2 separate regions of the Homo sapiens genome follow, and region 1 is linked to region 2. Evidence: promoter capture Hi-C in human tissues and cell types (Jung and others, 2019). All regions are on one chromosome and are shown on one strand. Each heading gives the region's core, a stretch centred on a gene start or on the middle of the fragment in contact. The rest is flanking DNA. Distances are from core to core; before and after follow the strand shown.

Region 1 (6,615 bases), core at 3,858-6,357, 1.2 Mb after region 2:
AAAACAATTTATTTTAAAATCATGACTGCTTTATCTTAGGATTTCTAAATGTATTCTTTTTCAGCTTAAGAAAACAATTAGGCAGCTACATCAGACCATAGTCCTCCTCATGACAAACACTGGAGGCCCAAAAGTAGAGAAACAATTTTAGTGTGCGTATCAGTTCAAGGTTGTTGTTTTGTTTTGTTTTGTTTTTTGAGACGGAATCTCGCTCTATGGCCAGGCTGGAGTGCAGTGTGGTGCGATCTTGGCCCACTGCAACCTCCGCCTCCCGGGTTCAAGCAATTCTCCTGCCTCAGCCTCCCATGTAGCTGGGACTACAGGTGCGTACCATCTCGACTCACTGCAACCTCCGCTTCCTGGGTTCAAGTGATTCTCCTGCCTTAGCGTTCCGAATAGCTGGAAATACAGGCACCCGCCACCACGCCCAGCTAATTTTTGTATTTTTAGTAGAGATGGGGTTTCACCATGTTGGCTAGGATGGTCTCAATCTCTTGACCTCGTGATCCGCCTGCCTCAGCCTCCCGAAGTGCTGGGATTACAGGTGTGAGCCACTGCGCCTGGCTAGTTCGAGTTTTTAAGGAATTTAGCTCAGGCTGCTGCATTGCCACACACACCCCTGCTCTTTCATAGGCCTGCTGCTTGGCAAAGCTACGGACCGGTAAAGGTTAATCAGGTATAATTAAGTCTGTCCGGGGTTCGACAAACAGCATCTTGTCCAAGGTGAGCATAGCCCAAGGCTATGTGCCTGCCCGGAGACTCAGCTTGGGGTTCCGAGGCATGTGGGCAGTAGTAGCAGGCCACTAGCCAGGCTGTCATCCTAGGCCTGGGAAGGACAGAAGGTGGTTTTCCCTACCCAGCATAGACAGCTGCCTGGGAGCCTGTCTGTCCTCTTGGCCAGACAGAGGACTACCTGCTCAAAAAGCAGTTCCTAGCTGTGTCCATGGAAAGTGTACTTCCACCCTGTTTGAGACTTGTGCCTCTCTGGATTCTGGTTTGTAAATCTCCTTGGGGGGCGGCAGAAAGAGGGTTGTATGTGTTTCCATGGAAGCACACACAATTTGCATGGCCACTGCAGAGGCCATGGCTACAAAGTCCCAGGCTCTCCCTGGCGGGGTTAGCCCCTATTCTTGGCACTGGTGAGGGTGCCAATGGCGCACAGCCAGTCGAAAATTTTGGTGGCCCTGGCTCCAGGCATAGGCCGTGGTTACCAACAGCCAGCAGGCCTCCATCTTCCCACTCAACACATAGGTCCCTGTGTGCCTTCCTCGAAAAAGATTGTACACACATGTGACATCCAGCTGCAGCCAGCGTTGCAGGGTGGGCTCCAGCTCTGCAGGGGGCAGTGGTCCTGTCTTCAGCACCTCTAGTCTGGAGTACAGGTTGCAGTCCCAGGGGCCAGAGGAAGTACTGTTGGTCCTGGAGAACCTGACCTTCACTGCTGAGTGGGAACAGAGGGGCCGGTGAGGAGATGGGCCTCTAGGAGTCCTCCCTAAACCCCCAAGAGTGTTTAGTCCATCAGTCCCCTCCACCTAGTAGACTAAACCCTTTTGTCTGATGCTCTGCCCTTAGAATCAGTCTGCCACCTTCCTTAGCAGAATTTTTGGTTTCATTTTGTTGTTTTAGCAATGTCCTATGCTTGTAAAGGAATTTTTTCTTTTTGTTCCAACCAGGCATAGCATTTGGATATTCCCTCTTACACTGCCTCAGCCCCGAGCCAGGAGCTGCAATGGAGGCACTTGGAAGGGGTGTGTAAAGCTACAGGCCCAGGACTCATCAAAGTCACTGGTGCAGAGAGTGTCCAGAACCTCCTTGGAGGAGCCTGCATCCTGCAACTCGCAGTCCCTGCAGCTGGCATGCAGCGCTGGGAAGAGGGGCAAGGCGAGGCACTGGCCAGTGTGGTTGGGGGTGGAGTGAGGAGGGGGTGGAGGGGGCTGATCCCTCCACTTTTCCCCCTTTTTTACCCTTTTTGAGACGGATGCCTGCTGTAGGTGACATTGAGTACAGTTTACCTGATCCCTGTATGATTTGAATGATTTGAAAGGGGTGGGGCCGAGCAAGGTGGAGACCAGCCATGTGCAGACTCACATGGGCGGTCCAGGCGGGAGCCGTTGTTGGCCACAGCAGTGATACAGAGATCATGGCCCAAGGGGAAGCGTCCACAATGCAGGATGGCTGGCCAGGGGTAGCTGTAGCAGGCCATGATGGGCTCGCAGCTGGCCTGCATGGCCTCGCACAGGCTGTAGGAGGGGTAGATGACCCTTTGGGGGAAAGGGTCGGGGGCTGCACCGCCACAGGCTGAGCACCCAGATCAGCTGGAACCTCTCCATGTTCCTACCCCTGTCTCGTGGCCTGGAACTCTCTGGTTGCTGGGCAACGACACTGGTCGCCTAGCAACAGCCCCGTAGCCTGGCTTTCCCACTTGCCCCACATCTCAGCCCTCAGCTCTGCCTCTTCACTCCCGCCCTCCCACTCAGGTGCCTTGCCAGCTTTCCAGTGCACCTCTCCCTCCGGCTCTGTGGACATCCATTGTCTGCAAGAGGTGGCCTGCACCTTGGGCCTTTACTCTCCATCTTAAAGTGAGGAAACAGGGCCCTCCCTCTTGTCCTGAAAGGCCTTCGGGGCACCGCAGCCAGGGCTGGGGTTGGCAAACAGTTCAAGGGCTTGATCCTGAGTTCTGCTGACATGGCCACCCAGAGGCTCTTGGGAGAAACCATTGTTCACAGGATAGGTTAGGCTGGGGAAGAGGAAACAGCCTTGGGATCTCTGGACTCTCTGGGAGAAAAGGCCACCAGAAGGGCCTCTGCTCCATCTCTTGCCAGGGTCTCTTTGGACAGACATAGCTTCCACGCCTCATTGGAGAGGAGGTTCCAGCCCGCCTGCCCCCAACCCCCAGCCTGAAGCGACTTGTCCACCTGCCCTATCTTGACATTCAAGAGCCCTTGACCACCATTGATGGTCTCCTGCCTAAGGGCACCTGGTTCCCTCTGTCTGGAACACTCTAACAAAACGATCCATTTTCCTCTCTGTGCCTGTCAGCGCCCAGCCCTGATAGGTGCTCAGGTGCTCAGCAAGGATTACTGAAGACCTGAGCCACCAGAGCAGGGCCCTGAGGGAGCCCTCCAGGGCCCTGCACCTGGAAGCCCCTGTCCTACCTGTCAAGGCATACAGGGGTAAATAGCAGAGGAAGAGGCGGGCATCGGGGTGGCACTCCCAGGCAAGCAGGAGCAGCCAGCTGACCAACTGCTGGATGGCCTCAGCTGCTGTGATGTGGTCCAGCAAGTTGGGCAGACGCATCTGTGTAGCCAATGTCGTGGCATAGGGCCATGGCTTGGGGAATGGGCATGCACCTCATGCAGCCCCAGGGAGCCCCTGACCCTGCTGTCATCCCACAGCATCACCAGTGTCACCAGCAGCCACAGCCCCTGCTCCATCACTGCCTTCTGTGCCTTGGCCTTAATGAACTGAGGTTGAGGGTTTTATAGGGCTGTTCCTGCACCCAGGGAGCCAACAGAGGAGATCCTGCAGGGGTTTGCACAGCTCCGAGGTGCCCGGACCCACCTGGTGAGGCCCCAACATGCTGACTGGGCTGTTTGTTTTTGATTAGCACACAGCAGGGGACTGTAGAGGCTGGAGGCACCTCCACTGGGCTTGCAGATTACTGGCACCTAATAAACTGAAGAAACCTGGGCCTGTGTTTTCTTTTCTTTTTCTGGCTTCCTTTTTCTTTCTTTTTAAATTTTGTGTGTTAAGCAATCAAGAGGTGACTCTGTTGATTTGCAATTTGATCTAATCCATTGTTCCACAGGGCTGTCTCCCCTTGGATCACACCCTTTCTGGGTTTGCTGGGGTCACGGGATCATGCAGGCCAAGAGTGGGGGCCTTTGTCCTATCCTCAGTGTTATCACATCAGGGTCACCTGCTCCTAGTAGCTGAATCTGGTCATGAGCATGGTTTCTGGAACACAGCAGGCTGGGTGGCCAGTGGCAAGGCACTGATTTCTCTGTGCTTGGGTTTCCTCTTAGATAGGAAGGTTGAATTAATGGGGCCTGGCCTCCTAGGGTAAGTATAAGGATTAAGGAGTTGATGTGTATGAAGTGCTTAGGACAGTGCCTTGGGCAGAGTCTGTGCTACCTAAGTATTTTCTGCTGTAATTACTATTAAAAACCACTCCAGGCCAGGTGTGGTGGCATATGCTTATAATCCCAGCACTTTTGAGCCCGAGGTGGAAGGATAGCTTGAACCCAGGAAATTGAGACCAGCCTGGGCAATATAGGGAGACTCCATCTCTACAAAAAATAAAAAAATAAAAAAAGCTCCAACCCTGGTGCTGAGTGACCATTTTCCTTCCTCTTGGCAATGACTGGAACTTTGTGCTGGAAGTGTAACTGAGAGAAGCGGCAGGCCACTCCGCAGGTAGCAGTGCTGCCCTTCCTCCAGTCAGCTCCTCTGCGTGCTTCTTGTCCTCCAGTGAAGACCGCTCTCCCAGGAACAAGGGAAGGAAGCAGGGCCCATGCTCCTGCTCTGGAAGTGTCTGGGGCTACCAGAATGTGGGCTCCCTAGATGTGAGGCTCAGGTTCTAGCTCCACCAAGCCACCTACCAGCTGTGCCTGGTGTGCAGGCAGCCAGCCACTGAAGCCAAGCCCCAGGCCTGACTGATCTTTACTCAGGGGTGTAGAGGCATAGAGTAGGCACTAAGTGAACATTTGTACCAGGGAAGGAATCAAGGAAGCAAAGGACACCTGGGACATCTTTTCAGAGACCAGTATCTGCCCAAAACCTGAGTAACCCTCACTGATCTTCCAGCACTGGGCAACTCAGCCCTGGTCAGATGGCCAGCACCCATCTTTGCAGGAAATTGGAGGGGAAGGCCCTTGGACTGGCCTGAAACATTGGATGTCTTGTGCTGTTTTTATTTGAATAATGCTGAAAAGTTAAAATGAAAGCAAGAAGCAGCCACCATCTCCCCACTTTAAATATTTATACCCAGTAAAAAGTAGCAATCAAGCCTCTGCCCTTCAGGATCACTCTCTAGCCTTCAGTCCCAACCCAAAGATGGGTCAGCCCATATCCAGGTTAGCTCTGGCTCACCTCCCAGGGCTCTCCTGGAAAATGTGTGCTCTCATCATCAAGAGAGGTCCCACATTTCCAACGCCAGCCAGCCTTTGCAGGACAACTCAATCTTGACAAGTCAGAATCAAGGGGTCTGTAAAATCCTCCATCCTCCAGACCTGGTGGCCACTGAGGGACATGCAGTACCCCAGGAACCCTGAAGGGAGGAAGGTACTGGGTGCACCAGCGCCCTGGCTCAGTCCTTGGCCTCACCCACCTCCTCTTCTGGCAGAAATCCCCGGCTTCCTGACTGATGAAGAGTGTCGGCTCATCATCCATCTGGCGCAGATGAAGGGGTTACAGCGCAGCCAGATCCTGCCTACTGAAGAGTATGAAGAGGCAATGAGCACTATGCAGGTCAGCCAGCTGGACCTCTTCCGGCTGCTGGACCAGAACCGTGATGGGCACCTTCAGCTCCGTGAGGTTGGAATCCTGGGACCTGAGTAGGCTCAGGGTGGGAGTGCCCAGAATCACCTTTCTGGTGGCCAGGTCACTTGTCCAGCCCAGGCCTGGTCCCAAAAGTCAGATACTACCCAGACCTGCCTGGGCATGCCCAGACCCAGGAGGTCCCCTTTCCCTCTGGAGAGCTCTTGGCTACCCTGGGAACCTCAGAAGATGGCAGGAGAATCCACCTGGGGGTGATGGCATTTATCACCATAGTTTTGGAGGGATGCACCTCTGTAGCCTGCATTCCTTGCTCTCATGGCTGGGGGCCCCACAGAACTCATGGTGGATGGGGTGGCAGCTCTGAGGTGGCCAGCAGCCTGCCTCTCTCTCTGCATAACTCTCACACACTCTACAGCCAGGCTGGAGGGCCAAGCTTCTGAGAGAAGTCTGGCAGGGTGGTGGTGCGGGGCACTGCCCACACAGAACACCCCACTGAGCCTGGTCTTTCTGAGGGATCTGGTGGTCATGCCCTAACCAGGTCTCCCCCTGGTGCCTGTTCTCCCTTAACACCCAGGACTTGGCTTTCCCCATCTCACCCGGAGTATCTGAGTGGGACACAGGCCTGTCCTTCACTCTGCTTCCAACCAACAGTGCTCTCCATGAAGGCCACGGGGCCTTAGTCCGGGAATGCAAATGGCCTACGCCTCTTGACCCCCAGCCCCCGGCCTTCTCCTCAGATGCTCTGTACCTTTCTACCTGCACTCACTTTGGCCCAATGGGCTCTGCCCTGTGTCCTCATCCATGCCCTCACCTGAACACTTTGCTCCACAACAAGCACTGGGCCATCTGTTCTCTGCTGGCTCTCCATCACTGGGGTCACCCACTGAGGGACCCTCTTATGCTTTAGGTTCTGGCCCAGACTCGCCTGGGAAATGGATGGTGGATGACTCCAGAGAGCATTCAGGAGATGTACGCCGCGATCAAGGCTGACCCTGATGGTGACGGTGAGCTCACACCTCTGCACAGTCCTATCCCCGTGAGCCTCCTGCCCACTCCCAGGTGCACAATTTTGAAAACTTGGGCCCTTCCCCCACAGCCAGGCAGCCTCTCTGCACC
Region 2 (6,502 bases), core at 3,975-6,474:
ACAATGTCCTTGAAAAAGGCTGTTCAGATGGAACCAAATCAACATTTCAGGTAAATATACATATATATGTAAACATATATGTAAATATATAGATGTAAATATATATATATTTTTTCTTTTTTTTAAACCGAGTTTTGATCTTGTTGCCCAGGCTGAAGTAAAATGGCGCGATCTCAGCTCAGCACAACCTCCGCCTCCCGGGTTCAAGCAATTCTCCTCCCTTAGCCTACCGAGTACCTGGGATTACAGGCATGCGTCACCACATCTGGCTAATTTTGTATTTTTAGTAGAGATGGGGTTTCTCCATGTTGGCCAGGCTGGTCTCGAACTCCCAACCTCAGATGATCCGCCTGCCTCGGTCTCCCAAAGTGCTGGGATTATAGGCGTGAGCCACTACACCTGGCCTCAGGTAAATATTTATTTTTTTTTTTTTGAGAGAGTCTTGCTCTGTCACCTAGGCTGGAGTGCAGTGGCGTAATCTCGGCTCACTTGCAGCCTCTGCCCACCGGGTTCCAGCGATTCTCCTGCCTCAGCCTCCTGGGTAGCTGGGATTACAGGCGCACGCCACCACGCCTGGCTAATTTTTGTATTTTTGGTAGAGACGGGGTTGCACCATGTTGGCCAGGCTGGTCTCAAACTCCCGACCTCAGGTGATCTGCCCGCCTTGGCCTCCCAAAGTGCTGGGATTACAGGCGTGAGACACCATGCCCGGCCTATATTTTTAATAACTACAGTGAATATAGGCCGGGTGCAGTGGCTCATGACTGTAATCCCAGTACTTTGGGAGGACGAGGTTAGAGGACTACTTTGAGTCCAGAAATTTGAGACCAGTCTGGGCAACACAGTAAGACCCTGTCTCTATTTATGTATTTATTTTTTGAGACACTTTCGCTCTGTAGCCTAGGCTGGAGTGCAATGGCCCGATCTCAGCTCACTACAACCTCCACCTCCCAGGTTTGAGTGATTCTCCTGCCTCAGTCTCCTGAGTAGCTGGGACTACAGTCATGTGCCACCACACCCGGCTAATTTTTGCATTTTTAGTAGAGCAGAAGTTTCACCACATTGGCCAGGCTGGTCTCGAACTCCTGACCTCAGGTGATCCACCGGCCTCGGTCTCCCAAGGTGCTGGGATTACAGGTGTGAGCCACAGCCCCCAGTCTCAGTCCAATTTTTAATAAACTATAAAATATTTAATTCTGATTAGATTTTTTTTCCAAATCATCCTACCAAATTACCAAACATGAAAATGCATGTAGGCCAGGCACAGTGGCTCATGCCTGTAATCCCAGTACTTTGGGAGGCTGAGGCTGGCGGATCACCTGAGGTCAGGAGTTCAAGCCCAGCCTGGCCAACATGGTGAAACCCCAGCTCTACTAAAAATAACAAAAATTAGCAGAGCGTGGTGGCGGGTGCCTGTAATCCCAGCTACTCAAGAGGCTGGGGTAGAAGAATCACTTCAACTTGGGAGGCCGAGGTCACACCACTGCACTCCAGCTTGGGCAGAAGAGCGAGACTCCATCTCAAAAAAAAAAAACAAAAAACAAAAAACAAAAAAAACACTGACTCCTAATTAAGAAATTTTAATTTCTATGTCATAAACAATTAATCTGGTTTTTTTTTGTTTTTGTTTTTTGTTTTGTTTTGTTTCGTTTTGTTTTGAGACAAGGTCTCGCTCTGTTGCCCAGGCTGGAGTGCAATGGTGCCAACACAGTTCACCGCAGCCTCGACCTCCTAGGCTCAAGTGATCCTCCAAGGACCCTGCCTCAGCCAAGTAGCTGGGACTACACGTGCATGCCACCACAACTGATGTATTTTTTTGTTTTGTTTTGTTTTGAGACAGGGTCTCATCATGTTGCCCAAGCTGGTCTCCAAATCCTGGGCTCAAATGAACCTCCCACCTGGAATTCCCAAGTGCTGGGATTACGGACGCAAGCCACTGCACCTGGCCCAATTAATCTTTTGATCAAAAAAAGTCTATTATATTTTATTTAAGAAAACAAAAATTTATTAGTCTCAAAATATTTCAAGTAAGAGTCAGTGTGGGCCAAGTGTGGTGGCTCACACTTGTAAGCCCTGCACTTTGGGAGGCTGAGGCAGGCAGAGAGCCCAGGAGTTCGAGACCAGCCTGGGCAACACTGCAAAACCCTGCCTCTACTGATAATACAAAAAATTAACCAGGTGTGGTGGTTCGTGCCTGTAGTCCCAGGTACTCAGGAGGCTGAGGTGGGAGAATCACCTGAGCCCAGGAGGTTGAGGCTGCAGTGTGCTATGATCTCACCACTGCACTCCAGCCTGGGCAACACAGAAAGACCCTGTCTCAAAAAAAAAAGAAAATTCCTAAATGAAGTCTCAGGTATCTTCCATTTGAAAAAGAAGGTAAATAATATCTATCATTTAGGACTGCTATGAGGACTTTAAGTGAGTTATACTTTAAGTACCCGGCACATGGTAAATGCTCAGTTGTTCACTGAATGCATGAGCTGAATGCAAGAGTTTGAGGTTGCAGTGAGCTATGATCACGCCACTGTACTCCAGCCTGGGCAACACAGAAAGACCCTGTCTCAAAAAAATAAAGTAAAATAAAAATAAATAAAAAATGACACTAACAAAATCATGTTTACTGAGACTGAAACTGTTGTCTGCTCTGAAAATGCAGTATTAAATGCACTAGAAACGGTTAGTTAAAACCAATGCGTACACCAAATAGAAATGCACTGTGTAGAAAAGAAGCAAAGAACTTTGTGATAATATTTTCACCACTTCAACGCTAACACCCAGAGACTGAAAAGATTCTGGCTGTCAGGCCTAGGGTATATACGTTTCTCAATCTCAGTAGACCCTAGAAATACACTCTGGCTTTACAAAGTCCTGAGAAGTCAAAGGTAACTTTGTCTATAAAGTCTCAGGGATAGTGAATCAACATTAGCCTAGTGGTCTCAATACTGCTGGGCAATTCCTCAAACTGCTTTGTAGCCACTTCCCTACCCACCCAAACAAATATCGAAGGATTATCCATGTCTAAAGCTTCTTGTAGTTGATCCCAAACTGATGCACACTGAACAGTGCGGAGAGGTAGAAATTACTGAAATTTGCCTTTTTCTACTCTCTTCCTTGATATTATTCAAAGGAATATGCCTGTAGATTATTTTTCTTTGTTAAAGCTTCACTGAATTTAAGACCCAAAGCATTGGCTAAAAGGAATGTAATAAAGAAGAATTAACCAATATTTTCATAACATATTCAATTCCATTAGCCACTTCTGGAAGCTCTATTACTTACATTTAAAAAGTGACCAATTTATCACTGTGTAAGAAAGGGCAATATTACTAAAAATCTACAGTCTAAATGTAATTTCAGAGGAGGAAAAGTCCAGACACCTAAAAATATAATTACTGTCTCTCACTTCCTCAAACTTCAGATAAGAAATGTAATTTTTCTAGCTGACCTTCAAAAACAAGAAAGAAAGAAATGATCATTTCTGGGTCTTTGGTTTTTTTTTGTTTTTTTTTTTTTTTTTTTTTTGGAGACAGTCTTACTTTATTACCTAGGCTGGAGTGCAATGGTGCAATCTCGGCTCACTGCAGCTTCTGCCTCCTGGGTTCAAGAGATTCTCCTGCCTCAGCCTCCCGAGTAGCTGGGATTACAGGCATGTGCTGCCACACCCGACTAATTTTGTATTTTTTGGAAAGACGGGGTTTCACCATGTTGGTCAGGCTAGTCTCGAACTCCTGACCTCAGGTGATCCACCCGCCCGGCCTTCCAAGCCGCGCCCGGCCAGAAATGGTCATTTCTGAATGTACCACGTGTAATGCCAAAGGAACCCAAGATCCCTGCCCATGCCTAATAACTGCCAAACACTGACAGGCTTCACTGAGCTGCTGAGGCCAAAAAAATAGGTTCCTAAACTAGTTTATGTTTTCATTCATTCAACAAATATTTACTAAGCAGCCACTAAGGGTAAGGCAATAAGTATCAGCCACGTTCCCGGATACACTGCAGTGAACAAAGCCCTTGCTTCAGTGCTATGATTCTCAATAGGAGAAAGTACAGAACTAAAGAGGGTGATAGGAAAACTTCAGAGGCTGGGGAGCCTTTTCGGCTACCTGCTTCATTACACCCTTTAAGGGAGTCCTCCTGAATATTTACACAAAAGGGAAGTTGGAAAAAAAAAAAACATTTGTTATAAACAAAGGATTAAGTCAAAACTTTGAAAACTACTGACTCGGCGGAACTTCCGTTCCAAAGGTAGGAGAAATCAGTAAATGAATAATTTCAAAATGTGGTAAACACTACGAAGAAAATAAAGGTGACACAAGAAAAGTGCTCTAATAAAAACTGGGTTCTTGGGGAAGGCCTCCCTTTAGAACACTTTACGTACAAGCGACCATCAACTCTCACGCCACACAGAACCAGAAGCACGATGAGGTAGAACCGTCGTTAATAGTTCTCATCCATCCTAGAATTCATATTGCCTGTTATTAATTAACGAATACAATCATCCCAGTCGTTTAGCAATTCAACAACAGGTAGCAAACCCCCTCGAGACTTTGAATACGCTCTAAACAAAACTTGAAGCTGCTTTTACCACGCTTGCTCGGTCTTTAGGGATCATTGTTCACACACCTAAGGCAGCTGACAAAAGAGAGAGAGTCACACTCGCTTAGTGGCTGAGCTCGACCTGCTCTGGCACACGAGACTGAGCAGGGGCTTTCACCATGGGTGCGTAGGCTCAGAGGAGAGAGCCCCGAACCCCAGTCAGGCCCCGGGATCGCGGGCGCCCAGAGCGGGCGGCGGGGGCGTGGCGGGCCCGGCGCCTGCCTTTGTTGTCCCTCGTGGCGTGCGGGGGGGAGGGGCGGCCCGAGGCCCGCGAGGCCAGCTGCCGCCTCCGGCCCCGGTCGCGTGGTCTCCCGGCCCCCACGGGCGCGCGAACCCACCTTCTTGTAGTGCTTGCCCAGCCAGACCCGCACCGAATCCAGCTGGGACACCGTCTCCGGGCTCTCCCAAAACTTGGTGGCCGGGCCCCCATCCTTCCGTCGATAAACAGCTAGGCCTGCGGCTGCCGCCGCAATCCCCGAGCCCGTGGCGCCTACCGCTGTCCCCGGCCCGCCGCCGCCCGCCGCTGCGGCCATCGTCGCAGCCCGTCGTCCCCACAGCCTGGCCCACCCCGGCCCTCGCGGTGTTTCCCGGTCGTTCCCGCGCGCACCCCCGCGCGCGTAGCCGCCACTGCCGCTTCCCGGCCCCGCCCAGCCAACCCTCTTCCGGCGCGGACGCCCGGCCCCGCCCCATCTGGGAACTGGCACTGTATCTGACGCGAGCCAGCGCACGCGCATGCGTAGCACTCGTGCGGCCGTGCCTTGGAATAGCACGTCCTGCGGCCTCAGCCGCCTCTTCCGCCATCCTCCGTAGGCTGCATTCTGCCCTAGTGAGCGCCGGTTTTTGAGCCTTGCTCTTCCCTCGCTACCGACGTCGAATCATTATGCGGTCAACAACCGCAGGTGGGTTATGTGTCATAGCCCGCCTCCGCTGGAGGGAAAAGGCCTGGTGCGAGAAATGCCCAAGGGAAAGCCTGTCTAGGGTATCGAGTGCTGGCCGAGGGCCCTGCACCCGGACTGGGACTGCGCCGGGCCCCGCTTTCCCTCAGGCCCTCCACCCCCAGCGGCCCGGCGGCATTTGTGAACAGCCATCTGGGACTCCCACGCCTAGGCTTTTCGGCTTCACAGACCTTCCACTCCCTCAGGGGTCCAGCCACAGCGGCTCATTCCTGCCCCAGGGGCCCTTGCACTGGCTCTTTCGAGACCTCAGCAGGTCTTCCCTTCTGATTTGCACTTACGAGACGCGTTCAGATTCACTGCTTCAAAGGACTTCAGAAAGTAGTTGTCAGATCTTAACAATCTTGAACAACTGTTCACACCCATACACTTTCTGCATAGCGCTCACCACGACCCGGCGTTTCTAGTTTCTCATTTACCTTCCACATAAATTACATGAGAACCTAATCTTAACTTGTTCACAGGTGTATCCTGAACACCTGAGACAAGGAACAGATGTACAGTAAATACTTGATGAGTTAATGAATGGCCCACATAGAAGCCGAAAATTTTTAAATTATTAACAAGGTATATTGGCCGGGTGCGGAGCACTTTGGGAGGCTGAGGCGGGAGGATCAATTGAGCCCAGGAGCTCTAGACCACCACACCCATCCCCGTCTCTACAAAAAATACAAAAATCAGCCAGCGTTGTGTTGCAAGCCTGTGGTCCTAGCCTCTTGGAGGGCTGAGGTGGGAGGATCCCTTGAGCTGGGGAGATGGAGGCTGCAGTGAGCTATAATCGCGCCACTCACTACACTTCAGCTTGGGCGACAGAGCGAAACCCTGTTTCAGAAACATAAAAAGTATGACTGGCCATAATGGAGTTGTGAACATAATGCTATATGATCGCAGAGAAGCAAGTAACTAATTGCTTGTGAGAACGTGACTAACTGCTGGTAAGTTTCTGAGATCTT

What was found. The method cuts DNA at HindIII sites, captures the fragments that hold promoters and counts their contacts. A contact is called where the count stands out against the background at its distance.
Region 1: a contact is called between a fragment that was not itself captured here and the fragment with the promoter of SMARCC1 in region 2, in 1 of the 25 tissues and cell types used here (aorta).

The regions. Positions count from the first base shown.
Region 1 is chr3:48,996,094-49,002,708 of GRCh38, forward strand. It overlaps P4HTM (prolyl 4-hydroxylase, transmembrane), which reads left to right. Exons shown (of 9, transcript NM_177939.3): 3 at 5,345-5,535; 4 at 6,407-6,503. LOC124906235 (a long non-coding RNA gene) reads left to right here and starts at 492. Exons shown (of 2, transcript XR_007095904.1): 1 at 492-2,579; 2 at 2,823-3,690. The HindIII fragment of the contact is 8,927 bases long and covers 645-6,615 here.
Region 2 is chr3:47,776,669-47,783,170 of GRCh38, forward strand. It overlaps SMARCC1 (SWI/SNF related BAF chromatin remodeling complex subunit C1), which reads right to left and starts at 5,225. Exons shown (of 28, transcript NM_003074.4): 1 at 4,935-5,225. The coding sequence starts at 5,129. RefSeq lists silencers at 4,699-4,938, 5,119-5,338, 5,749-5,798, 5,909-5,968 and an enhancer at 5,171-5,465. The HindIII fragment of the contact is 21,057 bases long and covers 1-6,502 here.